4 separate regions of the Homo sapiens genome follow, and regions 2, 3 and 4 are each linked to region 1. Evidence: promoter capture Hi-C in 16 types of primary human blood cells and fetal thymus (Javierre and others, 2016). All regions are on one chromosome and are shown on one strand. Each heading gives the region's core, a stretch centred on a gene start or on the middle of the fragment in contact. The rest is flanking DNA. Distances are from core to core; before and after follow the strand shown. Region 1 holds the start of MAGEE1 (MAGE family member E1). Region 2 holds the start of ATP7A (ATPase copper transporting alpha). Region 3 holds the start of ATRX (ATRX chromatin remodeler). Region 4 holds the start of UPRT (uracil phosphoribosyltransferase homolog).

What was found. The method cuts DNA at HindIII sites, captures the fragments that hold promoters and counts their contacts. A CHiCAGO score of 5 or more calls a contact.
Region 2: a contact is called between the fragment with the promoter of ATP7A here and the fragment with the promoter of MAGEE1 in region 1, in 4 of 17 cell types (naive CD8 T cells, total CD4 T cells, fetal thymus and 1 more). The highest score is 9.9, in naive CD8 T cells.
Region 3: a contact is called between the fragment with the promoter of ATRX here and the fragment with the promoter of MAGEE1 in region 1, in 1 of 17 cell types (total B cells). The highest score is 5.8, in total B cells.
Region 4: a fragment that was not itself captured here is called in contact with the fragment with the promoter of MAGEE1 in region 1 in 3 of 17 cell types (total CD8 T cells, non-activated CD4 T cells and total CD4 T cells); the score reaches 8.0 in total CD8 T cells.

The regions. Positions count from the first base shown.
Region 1 is chrX:76,425,013-76,432,804 of GRCh38, forward strand. It overlaps MAGEE1 (MAGE family member E1), which reads left to right and starts at 2,698. Exons shown (of 1, transcript NM_020932.3): 1 at 2,698-6,330. The coding sequence starts at 2,919. The coding sequence ends at 5,792. RefSeq lists enhancers at 2,746-2,955, 3,426-3,555. The HindIII fragment of the contact is 4,624 bases long and covers 821-5,444 here.
Region 2 is chrX:77,907,910-77,915,701 of GRCh38, forward strand. ATP7A (ATPase copper transporting alpha) reads left to right here and starts at 2,784. Exons shown (of 23, transcript NM_000052.7): 1 at 2,784-2,926. The HindIII fragment of the contact is 7,135 bases long and covers 1-4,643 here.
Region 3 is chrX:77,782,307-77,790,098 of GRCh38, forward strand. It overlaps ATRX (ATRX chromatin remodeler), which reads right to left and starts at 3,910. Exons shown (of 35, transcript NM_000489.6): 1 at 3,676-3,910. The coding sequence starts at 3,695. RefSeq lists a silencer at 3,524-3,573 and enhancers at 3,674-3,783, 3,794-3,983. The HindIII fragment of the contact is 7,766 bases long and covers 1-4,722 here.
Region 4 is chrX:75,271,456-75,279,247 of GRCh38, forward strand. UPRT (uracil phosphoribosyltransferase homolog) reads left to right here and starts at 2,630. Exons shown (of 7, transcript NM_145052.4): 1 at 2,630-3,185. The coding sequence starts at 2,800. It overlaps LOC124905200 (a long non-coding RNA gene), which reads right to left and starts at 2,581. Exons shown (of 4, transcript XR_007068269.1): 1 at 2,023-2,581. RefSeq lists enhancers at 2,521-2,570, 2,591-2,640, 2,801-3,010. The HindIII fragment of the contact is 1,002 bases long and covers 3,722-4,723 here.

The sequences.
Region 1 (7,792 bases), core at 1,448-3,947:
ATATTTTTCTTGATCAGTCCCCAAATCTCTTGCACTCACTTGTTTCCTATATTTTAATTCTACATATAAATTACACAAAACATATTATTATTATTGTTTTACATTGTCAATATGTCTGTTTACCCACATATTTATCCTTTCTATTACTGTTCGCTTCTTGCATCTCTTCAGTTTCAGAGGAGAACCTTTCAGTATTTCCTCAGTGTGGGTGTACTGGTGATCAATTTACTCAGCACTGATTTCTGAACATGTATTTATTTTGCCTTCATTTTTGATGTACTATTTCAGTAAGTTCAGAATTCCAAATTATCAGCTTACAAATCATTAAATTCCTTAAGTGACAAACTTGTATACAATGTAAGACTCACCTCTTTGCACTTCCCTTTTTTCTGAGATCATTACTCTTGAAGTCCTCATTGCCTTTATAGGTTTCTGATGCTATATTGGTAGCCTTTGTTGCCATAAAAGGGTTTCTTTACCTAAATTTCTGGGGTTTTTTTTCCGCAGGGCTGCTGCAATCAACTATACATTATTAGAAATGGAATTCTTTGATATCATTATAATGACTTACTGGTATTCCATTTTTAGTACCATAATTTCTTCAAATACTCTTTAGTTATTTAACATTCATTTAGTTTTCAGCTCTGTTATACTAGAACAAATTATATAATAAAAGTTATTTTAGCTAAATATTTGCACATATATCTTATTATTTCTTTAGAATATATTTCTAGAGGTAAAAATTTTTAGTTTATAGGTTTGAACAACTTCAGGGTCTTTAAAAATCACTGTACCCTAGGTTAGGAATATCTGTTGCTAAAGCTTAGAAATATCTTAGGTTTTTTTGTGCCTCCCATTCTGAATAGGCCCCAGGCATAAAAACTGCATTGGACTTCACAGAACCGAAACTGGTTATTCATATAAGGGATTGCTTCTCCAATTGGAGACAGAGATGGTGACACATTGTGACTGTAGCCAGTTATTTTCCCTTTCCTAAAGACGTATTAAAAAAAAGTATTGGAACCAACCCAAATGCCCATCAATGACAGACTGGATAAAGAAAACATGGCACATATACACCATGGAATACTATGCAATAAAAAAGGATGAGTTCATGTCCTTTGCAGGGGCATGGATGAAGCTGGAAACCATCATTCTCAGAAAATTAACACAAGAACAGGAAACCAAACACCACACGTTCTCACTCATAAGTGGGAATTGAACAATTACAACACATGGACACAGGGAGGGGAACATCACACACCAGGGCCTGTCAAGAGGTGGGGAGATAGGGGAGGGATAGCATTAGGAGAAATACCTAATGTAGATGATGGGTTGATGGGTGCAGCAAACCACCATGGCACGTGTATACCTAGGTAACAAATCTGCACATTCTGCACATGTACCCCAAAACTTAAAGTATAAAAAAAAAGAAAAAAAGACAAAAGTATACTCCCAGATTTTTGAGAAGATATAAAGAAAGACAACATATAATAAATGTTTGCAGCAAGATATAAACATATCAATAAAGGGTCAATAGTGGTAAGCTGAATTGTAGTGGTTGTGTGAGTGTCAGAAAGTTAGTGTTTTCCCTCTATCTCTCTTCCTCTCTCTCTCTCCCCTACTTCTAAAAACAGCCTGCCCGTCCTCTTCAGTGTTTTCTTTCTTACTCACTGCTGCCGTGCTACTCTCAGTTGGAATGATTTTCTCATCCTTGTCCTTTTGGTAAATATCTACCCACTCATCTTTTTAAACATCTCCTCTTTTATGAAGCCTTTTCTGCATCTACAGGTAGAACTGACCCTGCCATCCCCTGCATTCTTTACAAACTTCTAGAAAATTTAGCTTTACTTTTTCTCTGACTCCCATTTTTACATCGGGTGCTCCTTGATGACAAAGAGATTAACTGTAACTTCGGGATAGATGACCAGTGTTTGTTGAGTGAATGAATAAAGGGATCAGGGTTGGATCTGCTCAAAAGTGCTAGAGTAATAGAGCAAAACAGAGCAGGTAACACATCCCTTAACACTCGGTATCTCAACTGACTTTCACAAAAGCTCTATTAAATGAGCAGGTGATTGTGGAGTGAAAGAATTAAACAAATTTTCAAGAGTTTTAGTGGCTTTCCCACTAAAGCCTGGGTGACTGGGAAAGTTTGGGCTGGGAATGTTGGGCTTTTCAAGCGTGTTCGAAGCTCCCTAATTGGTACTAAATTTCAGGCATTCAGACCCTCTAGGAAAGAGTTCTTTCTAGCTCACAACATTAGGGGAGGAGTTAGACACATAAATGGAGAAAGTGATAGAAGAGACATGGTCAGGGATGGGGGTTCTACCCTTCCAGAGACAATGCACATTTTCTTTGAAACAGCTTCGGGAAAACTGCAAATCTCAATGATATTTACCAATTTTGAGAATCTATTAAGTGCCTGGCACTCTGTGTAGAAGCCCTCCAATCGTACCCTAAATCTGAGAAGTATTTATTATTATTTCCATTTTTACTCCCTAATGCATCTACTCTAAGCTCCTTGCTTCACCCTACCAAAGTTTCCCTTCTGCTAGTGCTCTCCTTTGGTGCAGAACCACCGCATCCACTTTCTCAGGCCCAGGGGAGGGGCGGGGCGGGGCGATTTCGCCTTGCCGCAGAGCCAGTCTGCGCCTGCGCGGACTGCGGCAGAGGGCGGGGTGTGAGAAGCAGAGTACAGTGAGACTAGCATTCACTGCTGGCCAGTGCCTGCCTTTTTCACCACCTCTAATTTCAGCTTCAGCAGTTGCTTGGAACTTTGGTTCTGGCAGCAGCAGCAACATCATTACCGCTAGCGGCAGTTTTGTGCCGAGGCACCTACACACCTCCCGTCCTCTCTGCCAGATCGCGGGCCTGTCGGTGTCTGCTCCTACACGCCAACGCCGGTGGGCAGGACCATGTCTCTGGTAAGCCAGAATTCGCGCCGCCGCCGCCGCCGCGTTGCAAAGGCTACTGCGCACAACAGCAGCTGGGGCGAAATGCAGGCCCCTAATGCCCCCGGTCTCCCCGCTGATGTGCCAGGCTCAGACGTCCCCCAGGGTCCCAGCGATTCCCAGATCCTCCAGGGCCTCTGCGCCTCTGAGGGCCCAAGCACCTCCGTTCTGCCCACCTCCGCTGAGGGCCCAAGCACCTTTGTGCCGCCCACCATCTCTGAGGCCTCAAGCGCCTCCGGGCAGCCCACCATCTCTGAGGGACCTGGCACCTCCGTGCTGCCCACCCCCAGTGAGGGCCTAAGCACCTCCGGGCCTCCCACCATCTCTAAGGGGCTGTGCACCTCTGTGACGCTTGCCGCCTCTGAGGGCCGGAACACCTCCAGGCCGCCCACTTCCTCTGAGGAACCTAGCACCTCCGTGCCGCCCACCGCCTCTGAGGTACCGAGCACCTCCCTGCCGCCCACCCCTGGTGAGGGAACGAGCACCTCCGTGCCGCCCACAGCCTATGAGGGACCAAGCACCTCCGTGGTGCCCACCCCTGATGAGGGACCAAGCACCTCCGTGCTGCCTACACCTGGTGAGGGACCAGGCACCTCCGTGCCGCTCGCCGCCACTGAGGGCCTGAGCACCTCCGTGCAGGCCACTCCTGATGAGGGACCGAGCACCTCCGTGCCGCCCACCGCCACTGAGGGCCTAAGCACCCCCGTGCCACCCACCCGTGATGAGGGACCGAGCACCTCCGTGCCGGCCACTCCTGGTGAGGGACCGAGCACCTCCGTGCTGCCCGCCGCCTCTGACGGACAAAGCATCTCCTTGGTGCCCACCCGCGGTAAGGGATCAAGCACCTCCGTGCCCCCCACCGCCACCGAGGGCCTGAGCACCTCCGTGCAGCCCACTGCTGGTGAGGGATCGAGCACCTCCGTGCCGCCCACCCCTGGTGGGGGACTGAGCACCTCCGTGCCGCCCACCGCCACTGAGGAGTTGAGCACCTCCGTGCCGCCCACTCCCGGTGAGGGACCAAGCACTTCCGTACTGCCAATCCCCGGTGAGGGACTGAGCACCTCTGTGCCGCCCACCGCCTCTGATGGATCGGACACCTCCGTGCCGCCCACTCCTGGTGAGGGCGCAAGCACCTTAGTGCAGCCCACCGCCCCTGACGGACCGGGAAGCTCCGTGCTGCCTAACCCTGGTGAGGGCCCGAGCACATTGTTTAGCTCTAGTGCTTCTGTGGACCGGAACCCCTCCAAGTGTTCCCTTGTTTTGCCAAGCCCTAGGGTAACCAAGGCCTCCGTGGACTCAGATTCTGAGGGTCCTAAGGGTGCAGAAGGCCCTATAGAATTCGAGGTCCTGAGAGACTGTGAGAGCCCCAACTCCATTAGTATTATGGGCCTCAATACTTCCCGGGTTGCAATTACCCTGAAGCCCCAAGACCCTATGGAACAGAACGTAGCTGAGCTGTTGCAGTTCCTGCTGGTGAAGGATCAGAGCAAGTACCCTATCCGGGAGTCTGAAATGCGGGAATATATTGTTAAAGAATATCGCAACCAGTTTCCTGAGATACTCAGGCGAGCAGCAGCCCACCTGGAGTGCATTTTTAGGTTTGAATTGAGAGAACTTGACCCTGAGGCACACACCTACATTCTGTTAAACAAACTGGGACCTGTGCCCTTTGAAGGGTTAGAAGAGAGCCCAAATGGGCCAAAGATGGGCCTCCTGATGATGATTCTAGGCCAAATATTCCTGAATGGCAACCAAGCCAAGGAGGCTGAGATTTGGGAAATGCTCTGGAGGATGGGGGTGCAGCGGGAAAGGAGGCTTTCCATTTTTGGGAACCCAAAGAGACTTCTGTCTGTGGAGTTTGTATGGCAGCGTTACTTAGACTACAGGCCAGTAACTGACTGTAAACCAGTGGAGTATGAGTTTTTCTGGGGCCCAAGATCCCACCTAGAAACCACCAAGATGAAAATTCTGAAGTTCATGGCGAAAATATATAACAAAGATCCTATGGATTGGCCAGAGAAATACAACGAAGCTCTGGAAGAAGATGCTGCCAGAGCCTTTGCTGAGGGTTGGCAGGCTCTCCCTCACTTTAGGAGGCCCTTTTTTGAGGAAGCTGCTGCAGAGGTACCATCCCCTGATTCAGAGGTTTCCAGCTATTCCTCAAAATATGCCCCACATTCATGGCCTGAGTCAAGATTGGAGAGCAAGGCAAGGAAGCTGGTGCAGTTATTTCTGCTTATGGATTCAACTAAGCTGCCTATACCAAAGAAAGGAATTCTGTACTACATTGGCCGAGAGTGCAGCAAAGTGTTCCCTGACCTCCTGAATCGTGCTGCCCGCACCCTGAACCATGTCTATGGGACAGAACTAGTGGTACTTGATCCCAGGAATCACTCCTATACTCTGTACAACCGAAGGGAGATGGAAGAAACTGAGGAGATCGTAGACAGTCCAAACAGGCCTGGCAACAACTTTTTGATGCAGGTCCTAAGCTTCATCTTTATTATGGGCAACCATGCCAGGGAGTCTGCAGTCTGGGCCTTTCTGCGGGGCTTAGGGGTTCAAGCTGGGAGAAAGCATGTGATTACCTGCAGATACTTGAGTCAGCGCTATATAGACAGTTTACGGGTTCCTGACAGTGATCCAGTGCAATATGAGTTTGTATGGGGTCCTAGAGCCCGTTTGGAAACCTCTAAGATGAAAGCCTTGCGATATGTGGCCAGAATCCACAGAAAGGAACCACAGGACTGGCCACAGCAGTACAGGGAGGCAATGGAAGATGAGGCCAATAGAGCTGATGTTGGGCACAGGCAAATCTTTGTTCACAACTTCAGGTAGAGGAATGCATGGCAGTCAGAGGGGCCTTGCAAGGAGGGGCCTTTGAGCCTCAGTTCTCATGTATTGGGGGGTGGGGGTGGGTACATATTGTATTTGGTATTTGTGTTCCAGTTATATTTATGTCTTTTCATATTTAGTTCTGGTGTGGTGTCTGGAAATGTTTCAACTGTTTTAATATATTGTCTGATTGGGTAAATGTGATTGACCACTTGCTGTCTCTGTTGTATTTTGGTATGAGTTTTGATAGCTCTATAAAATGTTTTGGAAATCTTTCCATCTTGTTGCATTATCTAGAAAAGAATATAGCATATAGCTATAGATATAGGCTTTTCCTTGAAAGCTTGAAAAAAATTCGCCAGTAAAATAATCTAGCTTAAAGTGATAAACTAACAAACAAATATAACAACAACTGAAAAGGCACTCTAAATTGTGGCTGGCTTCCCTTTCTGTCTGCTATTGTATGAAGAATACTGATGTTTACCTGTATTTGCTTTGCTGTACTAAAATGTAATGAAAAATAAAAGATTAATAAATGAAACATAATGCTAATACACTGACTTATTCAACTGCTTTCATACAGTGAGCACAGTGGTGTGCCCTAGTTATAGAAGTATAAAAGTTTACAAGATATAGTACCTGCCCAAGAATTCAGAGGCTGGATAGGGTACAGGGGGAGGTCATTTAAATCACCAATTTATTATGGTGTACTATGTGCTACAATAGAAAAATAGAGAGTGCTATGGTAGTTAAAAAGAGGCACAACTGACCAATTCCTGGGGTGTTCAGGGTGGTCCTTAAGGAAGCTGTTGGGTATGTGGGGTGGGGACAAGATGGGGTCTTTTTTTTTTTTTTTTTTTTTGAGACAGAGTCTCGCTCTGTTGCCCAGGCTAGAGTGCAGTGGCATGATCTCGGCTCACTGCAACCTCTGCCTCCTGGGTTCAAGAAATTCTCCTGCCTCAGCCTCCAGAGTAGCTGGGACTACAGGCAAGTGCCATCACACCCAGCTAATTTTTGTATTTTTAGTAGAGACGGGGTTTCACTATTTTGGCCAGGCTGGTCTCAAACTCCTGACCTCGTGATCTGTCCACCTCAGCCTCCCAAAGTGCTGAGATTACAGGCGTGAGCCACCGTGCCCAGCCAAGATGGGGTCCCTAATACAATCATGAATTAAACTGATTCAAGGCTGGATTTCAGTCTTTATGTGTGCTGGTAGGAAAAAAAGTCAAAGATGTAAGGCCAGAGAGCAGGATATATTGTGTCATCAATGGTTTCAATAAGATACATGAGCCAGCTTTCTCTAAGTTATGCTGTGGGTTTTTAAAAAATACCCAAATCTCAGAGGCTTACAACAACAAAATTTTGGGCTCATTTTACATCCCTTTCATGGGCTGTCTGTGATTCTGTTTATATTGTCTTCCTTCAGGTAACCAGGCTAAAGGAGTAAATCATATATGGGACACCTGTTCTTGTGGCAGAAGTAAAAGAGCCATAGTGGAACCATGTGATAGTTTTCAAAGCCTATGCTCATATATGGCATATTGTAGTCATAATCCATTGGCAAAAGCAAGTCACATGGGCAAGCTTGATGTCAATGAGCTGGGAAGTGTACTCCTTCTACAGGGAAGAACATATAGGAATGGGCCCAGTAGAGAGGAAGAACATATATTTTTGAATAAAAAATTAGTCTACCATATAAGAATTTGGCTTTAGTTGTGAGTGAGATGGAAAACTATTTAAGGCTTTTGATCTGAGCGATGGCAGGAAACCACTTAGTTTTGACAGGATTCTTTTGGCTCTCATATTGAAAAACTAAAGGGGGTGGGGAGGGCAGAAACTCTAATTTTAGCATAGTAATTTCTTCTTAATGTACCTATGAAAAGAGGTGTTATTTTCTGAACAAAATCAAATTTAAAGAAATTGAAGTCAGAAAGCCTGTTATCTTTTAAAAAACACCTTGGAAATCAAACTCCGTGGTATCAAGGTTAAAAGGCATTAGAACA
Region 2 (7,792 bases), core at 1,534-4,033, 1.5 Mb after region 1:
ATTAGGGTTAATGTCATAAATCCCATTCTTTTTTTTTTTTTGAGACCGAGTTTTGCTCTGTCATCCAGGCTGGAGTTCAGTGGTGTGATTTTGGCTCACTGCAACCTCCGCCTCCTGGGTTCAAGGGATTCTGCCTCGGCCTCCCAAGTAGCTGGAATTACAGGCGCCCACCATCACACCTGGTTAATTTTTATATTTTTAGTAGAGACAGGGTTTTGTCATGTTGGCCAGGCTGGTCTCGAACTCCTGACCTCAGGCGATCCACCTGCCTCGGCCTCCCAAAGTGCTGGGATTACAGTCGTGAGCCACGGTGCCCAACCTCATAAATCTCATTCTTAATTTCACTCTAGGACAGAATTATTGTAGCACCTGTGTTCTGTTATTTTAGATTCATTTTAACTTACCTAGACACGGGTACTGTGGTAGTTGTAGAGGTACAGATGTTGAGTTCCCATCCTCCTGGCTTAATGTCACTGGGGTTATTAATACACTTCATAAGCATTTTAGGGACACCTGCTGTCTGCTCAACCCCCAGCAAACCTGATTATTTCTTGAAGACATTCCCTTCTATGCTTGTGCATTGGTAAGGAGGATTAGGGATGATGCATTTAAAGACAAGAGTTTTAGGCTGGGCCTGGTGGCTCATATCTGTAATCCCAGCACTTTGGGCAGCTGAGGTGGGAGGATCATTTGAGGCCAAGAGTTCGAGACCAGCCTGGGCAACAAAGGGAGACTCCCATCTCCACACACAAAAAAATAAAAACTAGCCAGGTGTGGTGGTGTGTGCCCATAGTTCCAACTACTTGGGAGGCTGAGGTGCAAGGATCGCTTTAGCCCCGGAGTTTAAGGTTACAAGGACCTATGATCACACTTCTGCACTCCAGCCTGGGTGACAGCAAGACTCTCAAAACCAAACAACAACAAAATATATATATAGCTCTCTAGGTTTTTATGTTAAATATTAGAGTGCCTAAGAATGTACATGGTTGGCAGAGGATCTTGCAGCTCATAGTGATAAACTTTAGTATTTACATAAAAATACTAGATAGCTAGTAGATTCAATGTTCTGCTTCTGAAAAAGATATATTTTTGGTTTTGCCTTTTAGTGAATTTCTTTTGGATGCTTAACACAATGTTAATATAGTTACAAACCAACTTGCTAATATTTGGAAACCCACTTAAAAGCTATCTTCATTTCATATGATGTGATTTTTAAGATTTTAAATTTGGGGCTGAGTTTGTATCTTAATAATTAAGGCTGCACACATTGACAACTACAAAATAATGCCTGGGAAGATGAGTCCTGAGGCTAATTTTATATTTATGTGGATGAGTGTGGAGGGGGATAATAATTCTGAAATACTTAATCACAGACCTAAAATGTAGATCTATGGGTAATTTTAAATGTTGCCTGTCAAGGCTTAATAGGGACTTGACAACAGCTAGGATGGAAATTATTTCAACACTTAAATATGCTTACTTTGTGCCGGACGCTGTTCTAAGTCTTTTACAAATATTTACTTGATATTTGTATTTTGTGTACTATTTTGATTTCTGCAACATTATTAGGCTTCATACTCTTCTGTGGGAACTGGGTTCAAATGGTTCCAGATGAAAATACAAATAGTCCTGTGATTAGTTTTGTTCTACATCTTATGACAGATACTTCATGAAAGGAAATATGAAAAGGCCACATCTTGCTTTGAAATAAGTGAGATGGAGCCTCTCCCTCTTTTTACTGTTAATGTTCATAGTTTTAAAAATCCTAGAATTTTGCTGCTTTTCAAAATGTTAAGTTGGAAAGCAAGAATAAAATGACCCTTTTTTCAAATGTTTTCTGTACCATTTATTGCATTGTTTACATTTTATGCATCTCATTTCTAAATGAACTCATGGTAACAGAGACTGTAACACTTTTGCATCACCGGAATCTTCTAGGTGTGTAAAATGATGGACGAGTGAATGAATAAATGGGGGAGTGGTTCAGAGCTTGGAATGGCGCTATGAAGGTGGTGAAGTGACGTCCCTACCCCCTCAACACACATATAAAAATTATGAATTTATAAACATTTTCCTCTTGATGTAATTTTTCAATGGAGGGAAGAGGATAAATTCATAGTTCTGGCACTTACATCTGGAATTAGGCTACACAGTCTACGGGAAGCAAGTTAACACAGTCTAACAGATGCACGTGAATTTCATGCTGGGCGAAGATGAACTATGTGGAAGATGACTTATAAGGAGCTTTTATGTTACATCTTGGCAGTTAACACAGTCTAACTGATGCACGTGAATTTCATGCTGGGCGAAGATGAACTATGTGGAAGATGACTTATAAGGAGCTTTTATGTTACATCTTGGCAGTTAACACAGTCTAACAGATGCACGTGAATTTCATGCTAGGCAAAGATGAACTATGTGGAAGATGACTTATAAGGATCTTTTATGTTACATCTTGGCCTGAGGTTAGGAAACTAAAGATGACAAAGGCACTGTTTTAGTATGGGTTTTCTGGTTTCGCTTTTGTCGTGGGGGCGGGGTGGGATAGTGGACTCGTACCCTAACAAAGACCCACTCGAGGCTGCGTGTCGGCCCGGGGGCAGCAGGGGGCAGGAGAAGCTGGCTCTAGACCACGCGTTCCTTTTCACGTGACCAGTCGCTCTCTTTCCCGTGGCGGCCCTGCTTCCGGCAGGGGCATCACCCGGAAGTGGGGGTAGTCGAGGGAGGGAGGGGTAAAGGCGGCTGGCCGCCGCGGCGGGGGGTGGGAAAAGAGAAGCAGAGGGAGGAGTTGTTGCTGCCGCCGCCGCAGCCGCAGCTACTGTGACTTCTCCGATTGTGTGAGCTTTGTTGGAGCCTGCGTACGTGGATTTATCGCTGCCACGGTCTGCGTAGCTCCAGAGGTTTAACCATAGGATAGAGAAACCAGGTAAGTCCTACATTGGCTTCCCGTCGTCCTTTCTCCTGGAGGGGGTCTTCTGTGCTGTCAGTTTGTACTACGAGTGTGGTGAGAAGGTCATGTTAGTCTGGGGCAGTCTCGAAAGTTTCACTTATTCACAATTCAGGTATTAACTACATTTATGTTTTACCTCCCCTAACAGGGGATAGAGGAGGGGAAATTAAATCCTGACCTGTGTCACTTTCTTGTACCCTCTTGGAGAGAATGTCCTGATCATCCATGGCCTACGTTACCCAATTAATTGAGGGTACAAGAAAGTTTGTGTTTGGCATTGAAAGTCACATGGACTGGGGTCTTTGCTTAGTGACACCTCTTTATACTTTGGAAGCTAAGGTTACTAAAATGACCATAATTGATGAAATAATAATTGAAAAATAGATATTTGGCTTCTTGTCTTGCTCTGGGAGCGTAAGGTAAACTGAGAGAACTCTTGTTTCCACTTAGTTTTGTTCATTGTGCCCCCTTTCCAGTAAAGTTACTGTCCATTGTCCGACCCTGTGGCATCTTATCTTTGACACTTTTCTTCGTTGTAGACGTTGAGATTATCTTAAGCACAAACACTTATCGTTTCACAATTCAGCGTTTGTCCAGGATCTGATCTTTATTTTAATCACAGACTCTTTATCTACAATAGTATGGCTTTGTATTGAGAATATGTGCAGAACATTGAATTAGATGATACTGAGGTTATTAATTTTTTTTTTTTTTTGCCGGGTGCGGGGGGGTGGTGGGGAGGGGGTGATGCACAAGAAATAAGACAGAGTTCCTGGCCTCAAAAGAGTTTACTTACAGTAGGCTGGGCGCAGTGTCTGACACACCTGTAATACCAACACTTTGGGAGGCCGAGGAGGGTGGATCACCTGAGGTCAGGAGATCGAGACCAGCCTGGCCATCATGGCGAAACCCTGTCTTTACTAAAAATACAAAAATTAGCTGGGCGTGGTGGCGGGCGCCTGTAATCCCAGCTAGTCGGGAGACTGAGGCAAGAGGATCGCTTGAACCTGGGAGGCGGATGTTGCAGTGAGCCGAGATCGTGCCACTGCACTCCAGCCTGGGCTACAAGAGCGAAACTGTCTCCAAAAAAGAAGAAAGAAAAATAAACAGTTTACATACAATTGAGTCCGAATTGAGTCAGTTGAATTCAGCTATGAAGACAACGGTTTCTAGCAGCCCCACTGACTGAATTACTAGGTTGCTTATCACATCCTTTTCAATGGTTATTTTTGAACTGGCATTTTATTATATTTAACATTTTCTGGTGTCTAAGGTCATGACATGAGAGAGTTTTTTTTGTACTTGAGGATCTCAATGTAGTAGGAAAGAAAGATACACGATTACCTAAACATTTAAAAAATCTCACTAACGTTATATATTAGAAACAGGAGGTGTTATGAGAGTGCAGGGAAGGGAGCATGTGAACTGGGCTTTGAAAAATAGATAGGATTTAGCTTTGCAGGAATGGAGGAAGAGGAAGACATCTATCTGGACTGATAGATAGAAGAAATAATGTGAGCAAAGCCATGGGGGTCTGGAAAGTTGCCCGACATCCAGTAACACACTGTAAGTCAATATTCCTATTTCTAACAGCCACATCTTCCAAGATGTCACTGATTAAAATTAGAAAAAATATAGAATACAAAACTAGTCAGCTCACAAACATATCCAACTGCCCTCCAGCCAATAAGAAAGCTTATATAGAGAAAAAAATACATGGAAATGACAAAAGCAATGTTAATGTATGAGGCTTAATTCTGATGTAAACTCAAATCTAAAAGAGAAAAAATGTAAAACTCGCTATACTTTAATTCTGATTGAGTGTTGTGCCTTAAATATAATTTGGAATCATTTTTAAAATTGTTGGGAATGAATAACATTTTCTGAAGTGAGCAACTGTTCCAGGTTTTCCCCAAGGAATCTCTGCTTTTCCTTTTTTCCTCTAAATTGATTTCTCTCTATTGATCTTCTTAACTTGATAGGAACTATTCTATTCCGATCACAGCCTTAGAAAGATCTTGATGCCTGCCCTCAAGATAAGGTTAAACACTAATCCCTCCAAAGGATAGGTTAACATCTCTGTTCTCTAAAGCAGAAGGTTGATTTTCTTTGAAAAATGCTTGCAGAAGCAGTAAAATTTGCTTACAAAACAAGAGAGAGAGAGAAAAGAGTGCAAAAATAACCCCAGCTAACACACCACAACCTTCACTTCTGTGAGGGCGCTAAAGGAAATACATTTTAAAAAAATAAATTCCTTGTTATAACTCCTTTTATCTATATATTTAAAAGCTCTTGGCAAACTTTATTAATCAAGACTTTGGACATCCTGATGAGTGAAAATAATCTTCATTTGCCAGTTGGGAAAGTAAATTGCAAGGAGAGATTTTTGTCTGAACTCATAGAAGCACTAGCATAGATGAGAATAGTATTTGGGAGTTTTGTCTCAAAATTCCTTCTATTCATCTTTGTTAAAGGGCAGTTCAGGTTTTAGCGTTTTGTTTTTAGACAACGATATTTCTTAGGATATAGCTCAACATGGGGCCGGGGCAAGGGGGAGGCTGGGGGACAGATGAGTGATAGGCAATGGTTAGGCAGAGTATTTTAGTTCACTCTACCATCCCAGCAATCATGTTTTTCCCTCTTAAATCTCAGTCTTCAGGTTGATTTAATGTGATATTACTTGCTTACTTAACTTGCTGAGATAGTTTGGCAGGAAAAATATCAAAATTCCTTTAGAATGTGTTTCATTAAAGTAAAAGGGTCCTGTGTTTCTGATTTTATAAAATGTTCTTACTTTTTCCAGCACTGTTTGCAAATTGAAGTGATTTCCTAATCTTTTTGTGCCCAAATGTATGAGATATTGGTAGACTACATCAGTTTTCACAGATACCTCTTTCCTTGAAGGAAATGAGGGTAAAATACCCCATTTTGAGTCAGTTATGTGTACTTTGTACCATATTTTCTGTTCACATTTAAAATTATACAGCTATGTCTCAAGGATGAAAAAAGAGTTTTACTTATTTTTACTATTAATCTCTAGTGTAGAAGTCCAGTTTTTCAGACCTATAATCAGGAGTGCATTTTTAACAATTTACCAGTTGAAATAAATGGGTTATTTCACATTGTAGGGATATTGTTTTAGACTGGCCATTAACCTTATTTTATTTTATTTTTATTTTAAAAGATGTTATTGTTATTATTTATCTATGTATTTATTTCTAGAGGCAGGGCCTCGCTCTGTGGCCCAGGCTAGGGTGCCATGGCACAATCATAGCTCACTGCAGCCTTAATCTCCTGGGCTCAAATGATCCTCTGGCCTCTCAAGTAGCTGGAACCACAGGCGCATGCCACCATGCCTAGCTACTTATTTATTAATTAATTATTATTTTTTAAATAATATTATTTTTAAGAGATGGGGTCTTGCTCTGTCACCCAGGCTGGAGTGCAGTGGCGCCATCATAACTCACTGCAGTCTCGATCTCCCAGGCTCAAGCGATCCTCCTACCTCAGCCTCCTGAGTAGCTGGGACTATAGGTGTGTGCCACCACTCCCAGCTAATTTTTAAACTTTTTGTAGAGACAGCATCGTGCTGTGCAGTGGTGCTATCTCGGCTCACTGCAACCTCCGCCTCCTGGGTTCTAGTGATTCTCTTGCTTCAGTCTCCCAAGTAGCGGGGATTACAGGTGCGCGCCACCACACTTGGTTAGTTTTTGTATTTTTGGTAGAGAAGGGGTTTTGCCATGTTGGTCAGGCTGGTATCGAACTCCTGACTGACCTCAAGTGATCCACCCTCCTCAGCCTCCCAAAGTGCTGGGATTACAGGCATGAGCCACTGTGCCAGGCCTTAAAACACCTAGTGTTAAAAATGGTGTCTTAATTGTATTCTCAGATTCTCCTAGAAAGAAAAGATATACTAAATGTATATTTAGATATACTAAAACACCTAATGTTTATTTTTGTTTATTTATTTTTGAGATGGAGTCTGGCTCTGTCACCTAGGCTGGAGTGAAATGGTCTATGTTTGTTTTTTCATCTTGACAGTAATATCTTTGAACATTTTCTGGAGTATTAGATATTATTCTCTTGATGCTTCAAGGTATCTTAACTTCACCATTGTATTGCGATATATTGTTTTGGAGAGACAGTATAATATAGGATTAAGAGTGGAGGCTAGGTGGGGCACAGTTGCTCACGCCTGTAATCCCAGCACTTTGGGAGGCCGTGGCAGGCGGATTGCTTGAGCCCAGGCGTTCGAGACCAGCCTGGGCAACATAGGGAAACCCTGTCTCTACAAAAAATACAAAAATTAGCTGAGTGTGTTGGCACGTGCCTGTAGTCCCAGCTACTCAGGAGGCTGAGGTGGAAGGATCGCTTGAGCCTGGAAGGTTGAGGCTGCAGTGAGCTGAGATCACACCACTGCACTCCACCCTGGATGAGAGAGTGACAGAGTGAGACCCTGTCTTGTCCGGAAAAAAAAAAAAAGCCTGTCTTGTCTGGCTCAGTCCAGGTGCTAGACTGTCTAGGTGGGATCCCAGCCCCTCTGCTTACTACTTGTATGACCCTGCGCAGATTTCATACTCCTCTGTGCCTCAGTTCCTTCAAATTTCTAAAATGGGGACAATAACAGTACCTGTCTCACAGGATTGTTAATGATCTAATACATGTACGGTGTCTGGCAGATAGTAAACATACAATAAAATGTAGTTACCTTTAATATTTTAATATATTATTTACTGTAAAAGTAATTTTAACATCCTATATAATAAAATTATAAATTACAGTTTTGCTGTACTATAAATTTAGTAGACTACAGGATCAATATACTAATCAATCAATACTTGC
Region 3 (7,792 bases), core at 2,660-5,159, 1.4 Mb after region 1:
AAAATCTCTCAATTTAGACAACTTCTGCCTTTTTATATTTAAGATCAATAACAAGGTAATATAGCTGTCAGCTTTTCAAGTAATCAATTGCCATAAGGATTAGAATGACAAATTTCACCAAATCTCCCAATACTGAAATCTTTATATGCAAATAAATTAAGGCCAAGCGCAGTGGCTCACACCTGTAATCCCAGCACTTTGGGAGGCAGAGGCGGGCAGATCACCTGAGGTCAGGAGTTTGAGACCAGCCTGGCTGGCCAACATGGTGAAACCCCGTCTCTACTAAAAATACAAAAATTGGCCAGGTGTGGTGGCACTTGCCTGTAATCCCAGCTACTTGGGAGGCTGAGGCAGGAGAATCGCTTGAACCCAGGAGGCAAAGGTTGTAGTGAGCCAAGATGGTGCCATTGCACTCCAGCCTGGGCAACAGAGTGAGACTCCATCTCAAAAAAAATAAAAATAAAGAAAACAAATTAAAGTTCATCAGTCATGAAGCCTCCATTCCAGGCCCTAGCTCCAGGATGACAATTCTAGACACATCCTGGGCCAGAAGGGAATCTGCTGCCCTGAAGGGAAGGTCCCAGTCCTAGCAGCATACATCACCTGATAACTGAAGAGCCCTTGGGCCCTGAATAACCAGCAGAGAGCCAGGCGCGGTGGATCACACCTGTAATCCCAGCACTTTGGGAGGCCAAGGCAGGTAGATCACTTGAGTCCAGGAGTTCAGGACCAGCCTAGCCAATATGGTGAAACTCCCTCTCTACTAAAAATACAAAAATTAGCCAGGCGTGGTGGCACACACCTGTTAATCCCAGTTACTTGGGAGGCTGAGGCATGAGAATCACTTGAACCTGGGAGGCGGAGGCGGCAGTAAGCCAAGATCACGCCCCTTCACTCCAGCCTGGGCAACAAAGTGAGACTCTGTCTCAAAAAAATAAATTTAAAAATTAAAAAATAATCAGCAGTGACACCCAGGTACCCAAGTACTACATTGAGAGCTTGGTGATTATAAAAGACCTTATCTTTTATAATGCCAGAAGCAAGTCAATCTTATTTCAAACAACACAAACAACCAAAAAAATCCTTTAAAAACAACAAAACCTTTAAAGACTGAGCCACTGATTAGTCAGTGTATGTTTTAGCCAGGTCATCGGTTTATTTTCCTTCCTCTTGTCTTCTGGCCATTTTTCCACCACAGAATCCTAGAATATTACTTTTTTTTATAAACACAAGTAAAAATTAGAACTAGTCTTTGTTCCTGCTTTTTAAGTGCTTGACAAAATATTTGATAAAGAGAAAATCTGGAACTACTGTGTAAAATAATATTAACAATAATGCTTATATTATTTCTGCCTCACATTAGAAAAGACTCAAGAGGGATTTGGTACTGTGGGTTCAACTCAAGCATTACCTGTCAGATTCTCCTTTAACCATGATTATGGTTTAGGAGATCGATGACACTTCAGCCTGAGACAGTTCTGAACACCTACTTGGAGCTCTTTCATAGTAAATCATCAGGGAGTGTCACACTTTTTAATTAATTCCCTACATGCATATATGCAGTTCTTTACTAGAGGTTTTTCATGTAGCTTAAGACTCTCCTAGCATTAAATATTTCAGTTATCTCACTACATAGTACACCTGGACACAAAAAATGTAACATTATAAACAGCTACAAAATCATAGACCTGCAACAAATCAGAGTAGGTAATATGAACTTCTTTCATTGTAACACTTGGGCTAAATTTAAATGGTCATAATCAGGTTAGACCTGGCAGCTGAAGGGGGCATTAATGCCTTGTGGTTAAGAACATAAGCTGTGAAGTCAAGATGGGGTTCAATTCCAGCTCCACCAATTACAAGCTGTATAACTTCGGTCAAGTTCTTGATCTATGTCTCACTTTCCTCCTCATCGGTAAAATGGGCAAAACCAAGTACTTACCTCACAGGTTTGAGAATTCATCAAGATTATAAAGAACGACAATAAGCACTCAACTTAGTTATGATTATTACTCTTATCATCAAGATCTACAAAAATCCAAGACTAGTAAGAAAAACTGACCCTTGTGTAAAATTAATTATTCTATTCAGAAATTCTATATACGTAATTTGTTCATTCTAAAGAAACTGAGAAGATCCGACTTCAAACTATAGTTTCAAATGTAGACTTTGTGAAACTTAGTAAAATCTAGAGGTCATAATTTAACTGTAAGGTACACCATCCATGCATATGAACATGAGTGCCTGGTAATTACAGGCCAACAAGTTATACTGGGTACCACTTACGTGCCTAATACCCCACAGATAAAGATTTGTTGTATTTGAGCCTACTGACAAATTCAGAAACCAAGGCCACAATCGTGTACACAACTAGAGATCTACAATCTAAGAACTGAAGCATATCTTTCCCCAAGGTAAAGAAAATATAATCTACTGCTTGTTCATGCAGAAATACAGACATACGTATCATAGGCTCATTGCCCAATTCTACATTCTAGCTAAATTGCTCTAAAAACATATGCCAATCTAAGAGTTACTCAAAGGCACATTTCGCCAACTTGAAATGCAATTCTGACCCATGCTCCTTGTAATTTTATTTTGCCACTGGACGCCAAGGATGCATCTCCGAGTAAAAAAATTACTTAATTCACATTGTGGGATGAAAATTCAAATGTCAAACTGAAACGCCAGCCAGCCACCTGGGTAAAAGTGTATACATTTCATATTGACTACCCAAATTTTCAGACCCGTCAAGAGGCAAATCAGAAGCACACAGAAAAACAGCTTCAACCTAATAAACGTGCTTGATTGGTTAAGAGGAGGCCTGCCAGGCATTTTCCCTTGCAATAAATCTTACTTCGCATCAGCCCACGTTAACCTGCCCTTCATCCTTCATGGAATAAATAAGTAAATAAAGATAGGGCCTAATTACTCCTCGAAATTTGCCCAGAAAGTGGGGAAACACTTGAGGTCCCATTAAGGCTGGACATCACAAAAAGTAGTATACTAGGGTCCTCTGGAAGCAAAACCCTGTGTTAAGTCCCCCCTCGCCTAGAAATAAACCCAAGGATATCCTTCAGGATATGGAGTAGAAAAGATACCTAAATACCTGGAACTGCACCACAACCCAATCAAAAAAAGGCTTGTCTCCTGGGGCTGCAGAAAAAAAATCCCGCAGGGCCCGGGTGCTTCCCATCTCCAGCAACCTAAACGCCTCTAAGTCGTCCTGGGATCTCACATCCTCGCGCCCGCCCACCCCTCCCCCTCTTCTCACCCTCCCCCCGCTTCTTCCCCACGCAGTTTCTAGGCCCAAAGATTAGCAAAAATGACCGGGATACCAAAGACCGCCTCCGACTTCGAGGTCTCAATCCCACAGGCACCAAAGAATAAACAGAGGAGCCCGACCAAGCGTCACCGTTTAGGGGAGATTGCAAGAAGCGCCCCATACCCTAGGCCGCGCCCCCCCCACCTCCCCCCACCCCATCCCCACCCCCACCCCCGTCGGAGCCTTGCGCCGATACCCCGAAACCCTTCTCACCTAAAGAGAAAACGATGCCTCTTTCGGCTAAGCAACACACAGGCCTAACCCACCAAGCGAACGCCTTCCCAAACACCCGACTCAGACGGTGCCTGGGCCCAGACCGCTGGGGCCCATGAGACGGGGTTGCGTTTTACCTCATGGGCTCAGCGGTCATGTTTTCGCTTGAACGCCTTGTCGGCTTCTGTGATTGCTGGGCGCCGATCTGCGCTCCCCCGCGCCCGGTTACGATAGAAATGCACTGGAGTCTTAGTCGTCACTGTAGCTGCTGCTGGAACCTCCCCACAGCTCAAAGGCCGCTACCACTGCCACCGCCGCAGGAGCCGCGGAAACAAAGCGACACCGCTGCCGCCGCCATTTTGTTGGGCCGAGGCTCAGGCAGGAGAATTGGCGCGTCCTCCCTCTTTCTCTTTCCGTCAGCCATTGGCTACCTCCTCCAAAGCACAGAGTCTTATTGGCTACGGAAATTCACCTTCTTTGGGGGCCTGTTGCTAAGGCGGTCGACGTCATTTGATCCCCTCCACCTTTTCGCAGGGGGTCCAATTTAGTCCCAATTGACCTGAAAGTGCTAGTGACATAGTTTGACTTTATTTTGAAAATGCTCTTTTGGTCCAACCTCTTTTTTCTTTGACATATTAACGAAGTAATAACAGCAACCTACATTTATTGAGAGTTTACTATATGCTCGGCACTACACTAATCCTTTATCCGGGTTATCTCATTTAATCTTTACACTCTCTGAGGTAGACAAACCTACATTTTCCAGATGAGGAAACCAAGACACAAAGTCCCACAGTAGTGGAGCCGAGATTCACCAGACACTCTTAACCACTAATCTGTATGGCCATCCTATGTAAGTATTTTCTTTCCTATATGCTAGGCTATCATCAAGTTATTTGCTTTCCTAGATGTTTTATACATAATATTTGGCACACCAACATGCTTGGAAATGTATATGTGTATAATATACTTATATATATGTATATGTGTGCAGACGACATAAGACCAACTTGAACGCTGCATAAAATTCTTTCCATATTGAATAAAGTGTCTCTTAGAATACACACACACACACACACACACACACACACACACACACACACACGGGCCATTTCCCCAATTTGATGTGATGTTTAGCTCACAAACCAATCAATTTAGATCTGCTTCCTTCTCATTACAGAGGAAGCTTGGCTGGATGATCTGTAAATGCCTTTCCCGCTTTTATGATCTATAATTTGATTTTACATTGGTAATCTCTGCTAATCACAAACAAGTCCTCTAAAATCTAATCGCTTCGAAATTTATTTCCAAATTTATTCTGCCATGCATGCTTTAGTTCATTCTATTTATTTTTCTTGAAATATGCAAGAGCTCCTGTCGGGGTTAGGTGACAGGGTTGCTGCTTTCTACTGGGATAGCAAGAGGGGAGCCTTTTTTGAATGAAACACTTTGAAAATCTGATAGGCTCAGGCAACTTTTTTTTTTTTTTTTTCTGAGACAGGGTCTAGCTCTGTCACCCAGGCTGGAGTGCAGTGGCGTGACGCAGTTCACTGCAGCCTCGACCTCCTAGGCTCAAGCAATCCTCCCACCTCAGCCTCTCAAGCAGCTGGGACTGCAGGCGCGTGCCATCAAGCCCAGCTAATTATGTATTTATGTATTGGTATAGATGAGGTAGGTCTGTCTGTTGCCCAGGCTGGTCTCAAACATCTAAGCTCAAGCCATCCTCCAACCTCGACCTCCCAAAGTGCTGGAGTTACAGGGGTGAGCCACCGCGCCTGGCCTCAGGCAACTTTTTAATCAACAGACGCCTGTACACATTGCAATTATATCTTTCAAATGTTTGAGTTCAGTTGGCAATTATAGAAACCAGACCTCTGTACCTGCTATACTGATTTTGTCTTGTACACATTAAATATCATTTCAACATACAATTTACAGGAGTCATTTTTTTCTCCTTGGTAAATGCAGTGAATTTGAATGATGTACTCCATCACAAGGCAGCACAGAAATGTGCTTGCTGTTCAACTGACTTCACTATGAGAAAAATAGTAAATAGTCAACATGTTACCAGGTTATTGGCGTTTCGAACAAGGAATTGGACAAAATGCACAAAGCAAGGAAAGAATGAAGCAACAAAAGCAGAGACACGTTGAAAATGAAAGTACACTCCACAAGACTGCAGGAGCTGCCAGAGCACAGGGGCTCAAGACCCCCATTACAGAATTTTCTGGGATTTAAATACTCTCTAGAGGTTTTCCATTGGTTACTTGGTGTACACCCTATGTAAATAAAGTAGTGGCCCGCAATCAGAGGCTAAAGTGAAGTTACAAGGGTCACACCCTATGCAAGCATCTAATTGGTTGTGGACAGCAACCAATCAGAGGCTAAAGTGAAGTTACAAAGTTACACTGCTATACAAACATCTGCTTTCTGCAACCAATCAGAGATACTTTCAGTTTTCCATCTGCCAAGCGGAAAAGGAAGAGGATTTGCAAAGGGAGTAGTCTTTTTGTTACTTAGGTGTGGAAAGTTGGGGTTTTCCTTTTGATTCAGTTCTAGGAAGTCAACTTTACTCAGCCTTAGGTTCCCTGCCTCCAAACCCTATTCTCCTGCCTCACATTATTTTTAAATGAATTGAAATTATTAAGGTAGAAACTAGCTGTTGCTGAGAGACTTCTCAACACTAAACAGCTTTAAATGACAAGTCTCACAAAAGAAACTTAATAATAAAACTATAATCACAATTTGTTTTTGTTTTGTTTTGTTTTGTTTTGTTTTTGAGATGGAGTCTCGCTCTTGTAGCCCAGGCTGCAGGCTGGAGCGCAGTGGCATGATCTCGGCTCACTGCAACCACTACCTCCCAGGTTCAAGCGATTTTCCTGCCTCAGCCTCCCTAGTAGCTGGGATTACAGGCACCCACCACCACGACTAACTAATTTTCATATTTTTAGTAGAGACGGGGTTTCACCATGTTAGCCAAGCTGGTCTTGAACTCCTGACCTCAGGTAATCCACCCGCCTCGGCCTGCAAAAGTGCTGGGATTACAGCCATGAGCCACCATGCCAAGCAATCATAGATTTTTTAAATTTTAATTTTGTTTTGAGACAGGGCCTCACTTGGCCTCCCAGGCTGGAGCATAATGGCGTGATCATGGGTCACTGCAGCCTCGACCTCCCAAGCTCAAGTGATCCTCCCACCTCAGCCTCCCAAGTAGCTACAACTGCAGGCCTAAGCCACCACAGCCCGGCTAATTTTATCTTTTTGTTTTATTTTTTTAGAGAGTAGGTCTCGATGTTGCCCAGGCTCATGTCTCAAAGTCCAGAGCTCAAACTATCCTCCCACCATAACCTCCCAAAGTGCTTGAATTACAGGCGTGAGCCACCATGCCCAGCAATAATCACAGCATTTTCAAAATGAACAACATTTGTGAATATTGTTGTGAATAACAACTTGTGAATACATTGTGAATAACAACTCACTATATTTGTGAAGCATAAGAGAATACCTGAGCCGAACATGGTGGCTCATGCCTGTAATCTCTTAACTTTGGAAGGCCAAGAAGGGAAGATGGGTTAAATTCAGTAGTTCAAGACCAAACTGGGAAAAATAGTGAGGCTCCCTCTCTAAAAAAAATTTTTTTTTTACTTAAAAAAAAAAGAAAAAGAGGCCAGGCGCGGTGGCTCATGCCTGTAATCCCAGCACTTTGGGTGGCCGAGGCAGGTGGATCACCTGAGGTCAGGAGTTCAAGACCAGCCTGGCCAACATGGTGAAACCCCATCTCTACTAAAAATATAAAAAATTAGCCGGGTGTGGTGGTGGGTGCCTGTAATCCCAGCTACTGGGGAGGCTGAGGCAGGAGAATTGGTTGAACCCAGGAGGCGGAGGTTGCAGTGAACCGAGATTGCACCACTGCACTCCAGCCTGGGCAACAAGAGCAAGACTCCATCTCTCCATCTCAAAAAAAAAAGAAAGAAAGAAAAAGAATTCCTTTGTTAGTAAAGGATGGCCGACAAAGTTTTACTGATATACATATAGGTGTATCGCTTTCAGTGATGATTATCAACGGGTTCCCATCAACTATTTTAGAAGAAGTTTACTGGTACACATCTTCACATTTTTCTTCAAATTGCCACAGAAGGCAACCTAGACCTTTCTCTGACTCTTGACCATAAATGCGTAACTTGTGAATGTGCTTATTTGTTTTGGAAGGGAATAAGAGATACAGTACCTGAAAGAGAGCAAATCAGCTGAGAA
Region 4 (7,792 bases), core at 2,973-5,472, 1.2 Mb before region 1:
AACTGGATCCTCATCTCTCACCTCATACAAAAATCAACTCAAGATGGATTAAGGACTGAAATCTAAGACCTGAAACTATAAAAATTCTAGAAGATAACTTTGGAAAAACCCTTATAGACATTGGCTTAGCCAAAGATTTCATGACCAGGAACACAAAAGCAAATGCAATAAAAACAAAGATAAATAGCTGGGACTTAATTAAACTAAAGAGCTTTTGCACAGCAAAAGGAACAGTCAGCAGAGTAAACAGACAACCCATACAGTGGGAGAAAATCTTCACAATCTATACATCTGACAAAGGACTAATATCCAGGATGTACGAGGAACTCAAATCAGAAAGACAAAAACAAACAATCCCATCAAAAAGTGGGCTAAGGACATGAATAGACAATTCTCAAAAGAAGATATACAAATGGCCAAGAAATGTATTAAAAAATGCTCAACATCACTAATTATCAGAGAGATGCAAATTAAAACCACAATTTAATACCACCTTACTCTTGCAAGAATGGCCATAATCAAAGAAATTAAAAAATAGTAGATGTTGGCATGGATGTGGCAAACAGGGAACACTGCTACACTGCTGGTAGGAATGTCAACTAATGGAAACAGTGTGGAGATTCCTTAAAGAACTAAAAGTAGAACTACCATTTCATCCAGCAATCCCATTACTGGGTATCTACCCAGAGGAAAAGAAGTCATTATACAGAAAAGATAGTTGCACACGCATGTTTATAGCAGCATAATTCGCAATTGCAAAAACGTGGAACCAACCCAAATGTCCATCAATCAATGAGTGGATAAAGAAGCTGTGAGATATATATATATATACACATATATATGTGTATATATATGTGTATATATACATATATATGTATATATATATATACACATATATATATGTGTATATATATATATGTATATATATATGGAATACTACTCAGCCATAAAAAGGAATGAATTAATGGCTTTTGCAGCGACCTGGATGAGATTGGAGACTAATATTCTAAGTGAAGTAACTCAGGAATGGAAAACCAAACATTGTATGTTCTCACTCATAAGTGGGAGCTTAGCTATGATGGATACAAAGGCATATGAATGATACAATGAACTTTGGGGTCTTGGAGGAAAAGGGTGGGAAGGGCTTGAGAGATAAAAGACTACAAATAGGGTACAGTGTATACTGCTCGAGTGATGGATGCACCAAAATCTCTCAAATCACCACTAAAGAACTTACTCATCTAACCAAACAGCACCTGTTCCCCAATAACCTATGGAAATAAAAAAAAAATTATAAAAAAATCTGTATAGGCATGTTAAAAAAAGGAAGGACAGAAATACCATTCAACTCAGCAATCCCATTACTGGGTATATACCCAAAGGAACATAAATTATTGTTTTATTAAAGACACATGCACACATATGTTAACTCCAGCACTATTTACAATAACAAAGACATGGAATCAACCTAACTACCCATTAATGATAGAATGGATAAAGAAAATGTGGTACATATACACCATGGAATACTATGCAACCATAAAAAATAATGAGATCATGTCCTTTGCAGGGACATGGATGGAGCTGGAGCCTATTATCCTTAGCAAACTAACACAAGAACAGAAAACCAAATGCTGCATGTTCTCACTTATAAGTGGGAGCTAAATGATGAGAACACATGGACACATAGTGGGGAACAACACACACTGGAGCCTACTGCAGAGTGCATGGTGTGAGAAGGGAGAGGATCAGGAAAGACAACTAGTGGGTACTAGGCTTAATACCTGGGCGATGAAATAATCTTTACAACAAGCCCCCATGACAGAAGTTAACCTATGTAACAAACCTGCACATATATCCCTGAACTTAAAAGTTAAAAAAAAAAAAAGATTCTTGTATCCCATCTCGGATCTACAGAATCACAATCTCAAAAATGAGCCGTAAGAACCTGCATTTTAACAAGCTCTACAATTATTGTGGTACATACTGATGTTTGAAAAGTACTGCCCTAGACACTCTTACCTCAGGCCGTTATAGTGAGTCCATACACTTAAAAATAAGCGTCTTTCCAAGTACTTTAAAGATTCAAAATGATAGTGGATCTGAAATGCCGCCTGAGTCCCCATGACAACGTGTACACTGTGGGGCCCAACCAATAAAGATAAGAAAAGCTTTGGCGGTCAAGCATACTTGGGAAGCTGCAGTTTCTAGAACAGTCTAGTAGAGGACAGCCTCTTCAGCAGCCTGCTAGGCATTTTTTTACTTCTTCCTTCTGTTATGCAGACAAGCTAACTGAAGATGCGGTTACTGAGATATAATTTCTCTGCTAGGTCACAAAGTCTGAAAACATGGGCCTTACGTGTGTAACTGTGTATCATCACCTGCCACCCCCAGTTTTTCCTGGCTCTACTAATCACCCAAAGTTCTGAATGCAGAAGCCCCAGGGGCCCCCGGAAGATCCTTCAAGCTGGCATCCTTGGCCTCGCTGCGGGGGCTTAGCTACCTGTGGGAACCCACGTAGCAAGGGTGACTCAAAGGGTTAACAAGCAGTGGCGCCGCAGAGTGGCGGGGAGTGCAGCCAATAGGGTGTCTAGGCAGGCAGTACGTCTGGTGTGGGCGGGAGTGAGCCAAAGTGTGCTAAAGGAAACCAACAGCGGCCTAGGGGTGAAAGGACAGCCAGGGTTAGATGTTCTGAGGAGGCGGGAGCAACCGAGAGAGCACGTGAGCATCTGTCCTTTCTACCCGTTCCTCTTTATCTTTAGTGTTCAGTAGCAGCGGGGATAGCCCGGGGCCCGGTGTATGGCCACGGAGTTACAGTGTCCGGACTCCATGCCCTGTCACAACCAGCAAGTAAACTCTGCCTCAACCCCAAGTCCCGAGCAGCTGCGACCTGGCGATCTGATCCTGGACCACGCAGGGGGAAACAGAGCCTCCAGGGCCAAGGTGATTCTCCTCACGGGGTACGCCCATTCTAGCCTGCCGGCCGAGCTGGACTCTGGGGCCTGCGGCGGCTCCAGCCTCAACTCAGAGGGCAACAGTGGTAGTGGTGACAGTAGCAGCTATGACGCACCAGCTGGCAACTCCTTCCTAGAGGACTGCGAACTCTCCCGGCAGATCGGGGCGCAGCTTAAGCTGCTGCCTATGAATGATCAGATACGGGAGCTACAGACCATCATCCGTGACAAGTAAGCCAAGAGCGGAAGGGGAAAGGGAAGTGGAGGGTCTTGCAGGCTGTGGGCGGGGATTGGAAGTAAAAGGGCTAAGAGACAGTGTTCTTGGCCTTGGCAAACTTTGGAGATTGGGGTAAGACCTTTTATTTGGTGTGTGTGTGTGTGTGTGTGTGTGTGTGTGTGTGTGTGTGTCGTGTAACTCGAACGCCAACCTTCTCTTTCCAAGTTCCGGTGTCTAACATCACTTTGGGTGGGGAGGAAGACTTTAGGTAGCCTCTGGGCTCTTTGTCTCTCCCAGGAAAGACAACTCCTTGGCCATTCCAGGCAGGTAAACTCCCCTATACTATGTGGGCAGTGCTTGTCCACATGGTAAACCTATAACCCAGAAATGGTTACTATCCAAGGTTATGCACTACCACCAATCACCTCAGGTTCATAAATAGAAATAAAGCAATTTCAAGGAAATTCTATTCAGGCCCTGACCCTTTAGTATTTGCTACTGCAAACAAGGTCTTTTAGTCTTGGAGTTCAGGTTTACTTGATCACATGAAAGCTTATCGTCCAACTCTTATCATTTTTCACTGTAAACTCACAGAACATAGTTAATGGATCAAAGGGAGCCTAAAGGAGCCTTTGGCCCTTCCTAATCCCACAAACCAATGTAGCCAGAACTTCATGTTAAAATGTAATTTTGAAATTTCTAAACCTACGTTGTAAATGGGTTTTCTCCAGGGAAATATGTACCATGATGAACTACAGCTATTTTCTTTATTGGCAGCACTTTAAATGAGCAGCATATCAAAACACCCCTTTTTTAGTGGCAGGGGTTGGGGGGACATGCCTTGATCTTTTAAAAATGGCTACTGAATGACAGATGCCACTCCCTAAACCAGACTCTAGAAACCTTGTCTTACACTATTGTAATAATACTGTTTCTCTGCTTGCAGTTTTTCCTCTCTTCCACATGCACCCATACATTACTGTACAATCAATCTTCATAACATACATCTTTGATTCAGTAATTGCCCTACTCAGCAACCTTCTTTGGCTTCTCAGAGCCTACCAAATAAAGTCCAGGATCCTTAGCTTGATTGATATTTTTGAGACAGGATCTTTCTCTGTCACCCAGGCTGGAGTGCAGTGGTGAGATCACAGCTTACTGTACCCTCATACTTCTGGGCTCAAGTAATCCTCCTGCCTTAGCCTCCTGAGTAGCTGGGACTACAGGGACATGGCACTGCCCCCCGGCTAATTTTTTATTTTTTTGTAGAGATGGAGGTCTTGCTATATTGTCCACGATGGTCTTGAACTCCTGGCCTCAAGCAATCCTCGTGCCTCGGCCTCCTAAAATGTTGGGATTACAGGTGTGAGCCACCATGCCTGGCCCCCTTAGCTTGGGATGAAGGCCCTTCTTCATAGTTCCTAGGAACAATTCTGAAACATATCTGTTTCTGCTCTCATCTGGAATTCCCTGTGTCTCCTTTATGTACGTTCAGGATACTTATTCTTCAGGGTGAAACACAGCATTAAATAATTGTCCACCTCTGCCAAGAAGCTTCCCTTTAATCATTATTCCTGGCTTATCTTCCCTGGTCTTTTTAATGCAAGATTCACCTTCTTTTTCGTATATTGTTATTTTTGTATAGATCTTATCCTGCCTATGACATCTTGAAGGCAGAAATCTTTTACATTTTTGAATGCCGGCCATGCCTTGCAAATAATAGATGCTCAATTACTAGAGTTTTTTTGTAGCTCTTAAAATTATATTTATGAAACTATACTATTTTACTCTTTTTAATGAATCAATATTGAAAACTACTGTGGTTATGTTATCTAATAGACAAAATAGTGATCCTAAAAAATAGGAGGCATAGGTTTGCTGTAGTTGTGGTAGGGTAGGGGCAGCCAAAATAAATCTTACATATACAACAAAGAAAAATAGATGATGATTCTTGTTTCTATAGAGCAGAAGTTACTACGCTTGGGTCTTCGACTCCCTCGTACCAGTAGATGGGTTCAGGGCTTTAACAAACCCTCATAAATTAACTGGGAAATTTTACTCATATGAAGATTTTTAATAGTTGTTTTTAAATAACATCTTTATTGAGATATAATTCACAGACCATACAGTTCAAGAATTTAAAGTGTATAATTCAGTGGTTTTAAGTATGTTCACAGCTGTGCATTCATCACCACAGTTTTAGAACATTTGTCATCACCCCAGCAAGAAACCTCATGCCCATTAAACAGTCACTCCCCATTTTCACCCAACCCACCCAAAGCCCTAGACAATCATTAATCTACTTTCTATTTCTAATGGTTTGCCCATTCTGCACATTACATATAAAAAATGTCTATTCTGGACATTTCATTATCATACAATATGTGGTCATTTTGTGACTCATTTCATTTAGCATGTTTTCAAGGTTCATCCGTGTGGGATCTTTCCTTTTTATGATTAAATGATACTCCATTATATGAATATACCACAATTTGTTTATCCATCAGTTGGTGAACATTTGGGTGGTTTACCACTCTTTGGCTATTATGAATAATGCTGCTATGAACATTCACATATGTGCCTTTTTTTTTAGAGGGTGAGGATTCCTTAGTTTTTTAGATTTCACAAAGTGTCATGATAATGTAAAGGTGAAGTGCCCTTGCTATAGCGCTTGGAGAGGGAATGGCATTTAGCATTCACATATGACAAAATAATACCTGATTATATGTCATTAGTCAGAAAAACCTGGGTTATGTAGTAAACCTGGGTGTAAGTGGAATCCTTTTTTTTTTTTCCTCTAAGTTTGGAAGGAGACAGCAGGATCCAGAGAAGTGATTTAGGCAATATGTTTAGCATCTCTGTGCTTCACCTTTATCATTTGTAAAATGAAGATGTTGGTAAATATCACATGGAGCCCCTGGGAGGCTAAAACAAGATACTGTTCATGAATATTCATTATGAACTGTGAAGAGCTGTTCACATTTAAGGAATTTCAAGCCTCATGTTTGGATTTGTGCATGCTTCTAATTGCATTCATAAGTGCTGTCTTCTTGATTTGTCAGAAGACAGTAAAATGAATTTAACTCTATGTGGAATTCACTTTTTTATCTTGAAAATGAATACTGGGATATTGTAGATAATTTTTATCTTGTTTTGATATAGTATGGAAAGACCCACCACAATTTTTAGTAATGTATTGCTGCTTATTTAGGCTGGGGACATTGTTTTTAGTTTTGTTTTTGTTAACCAAATTAGAGGCTTTATATTCCCTTTATCTTTAAAAAATTGTCATCCTCTCTCACAAGACCTGTTTTAGCCCCTCTAGGAGGCTGGTTTAAGGTGCCTATGGTAAGAGGAGCTATATTTACATAGGTCTAGTTATGGAAGGTGCCATCAGTTATCATACCCTGTTCTCTTTGGGGCTTATTCTCTTCTCTATTTTGATGTGACAGCATAAATGTGCACTGTGGAACTGTCCGATAATAGAAGCCACTGGAGTACATATTTTTTCTTTTATTGTTTCTGGTCCTTAGCATCTATATAGTGAAGGGATTGCTTTGTGAATTGACTTTGGTATGGGGAAATCGGGATTGAGCCAGCAGGACTGCATGTTGTTGTATATATGTGAAACAGGCAAGATTGAGAACATTGTCTGTATTGATTTAAAATGTCTTTTTAGATTTTGAAATGTGCAATATTTGAAACATAATATGTTGGTTGTATTATTGAATTTCAAGGAAATAAATTTCTCTCTTTGAAAGTGCAGTAAACACTGAGTAGATTATTTGCTCAGCCATACGTATGTGGGTTGCTGGTGAACTTGGGATAAGAAAAAATTTCTTCATTTATGTCGTTTTGTTGTTGTTGCAATGGATTAAACCACACATCCTTCTCTTCTGCCTCCTTTATATACTAAACTCAGCAAAATCTGAGTAATGTGCTTTTCCTGTGAATATAGTTCATGACCTCATATTTAAAGGCAATGCAGTGTATTTAAAAGATCATCCTCCCTGTCCAGTTTTTTGTTTTTTATTTTTTGTTTCCTGAAACATTAAAGCTGTTGTGTGAGCTGTTGAATGCTTCCTGTGTATTTGTCCTAGGTGGGGCTTTGGCATGGCCTCAGCAAGCTGCTTGTTTAAAAGTTTAGCAATGTTAGAGTATGTCAGTATGTGACATAGGACAAAAAAAGGAGCACATTCAGCCTTGTGACTCTCTTTAGTCACCTGGAGGGGAGAAAATTATCCTTAGGGTGAATGAACATCCTGTGTAACCCTAATGTGAGTGCAATCTAATGTGATTTGAGTTATGTGACTAAGTAATGTATTGTCCTTAACCAAAGCTGTGTGCATCAGAATTGCCTGTGGAGTCTCTCTCTCTTTTTTTAAAATACAAGTTCCTGACTCCCATCCTTAGCAGTTGTTTGTATAGTCTTGAGTAAAACCTGACCACAGGTAATTGTGCTGTGTTTAGACTGGGCCATTGCCCCTGGGAGAATGGCCAGTCTCCCTTGTGTGCTGATTTGCTAGCCTGCTGATTCGGGCTATAGATATGGTGATCCAGGGATTCCACACACTAAACAGAACTAGGCTAGAGAGCCTGACCTAGCATTACATCAACACTG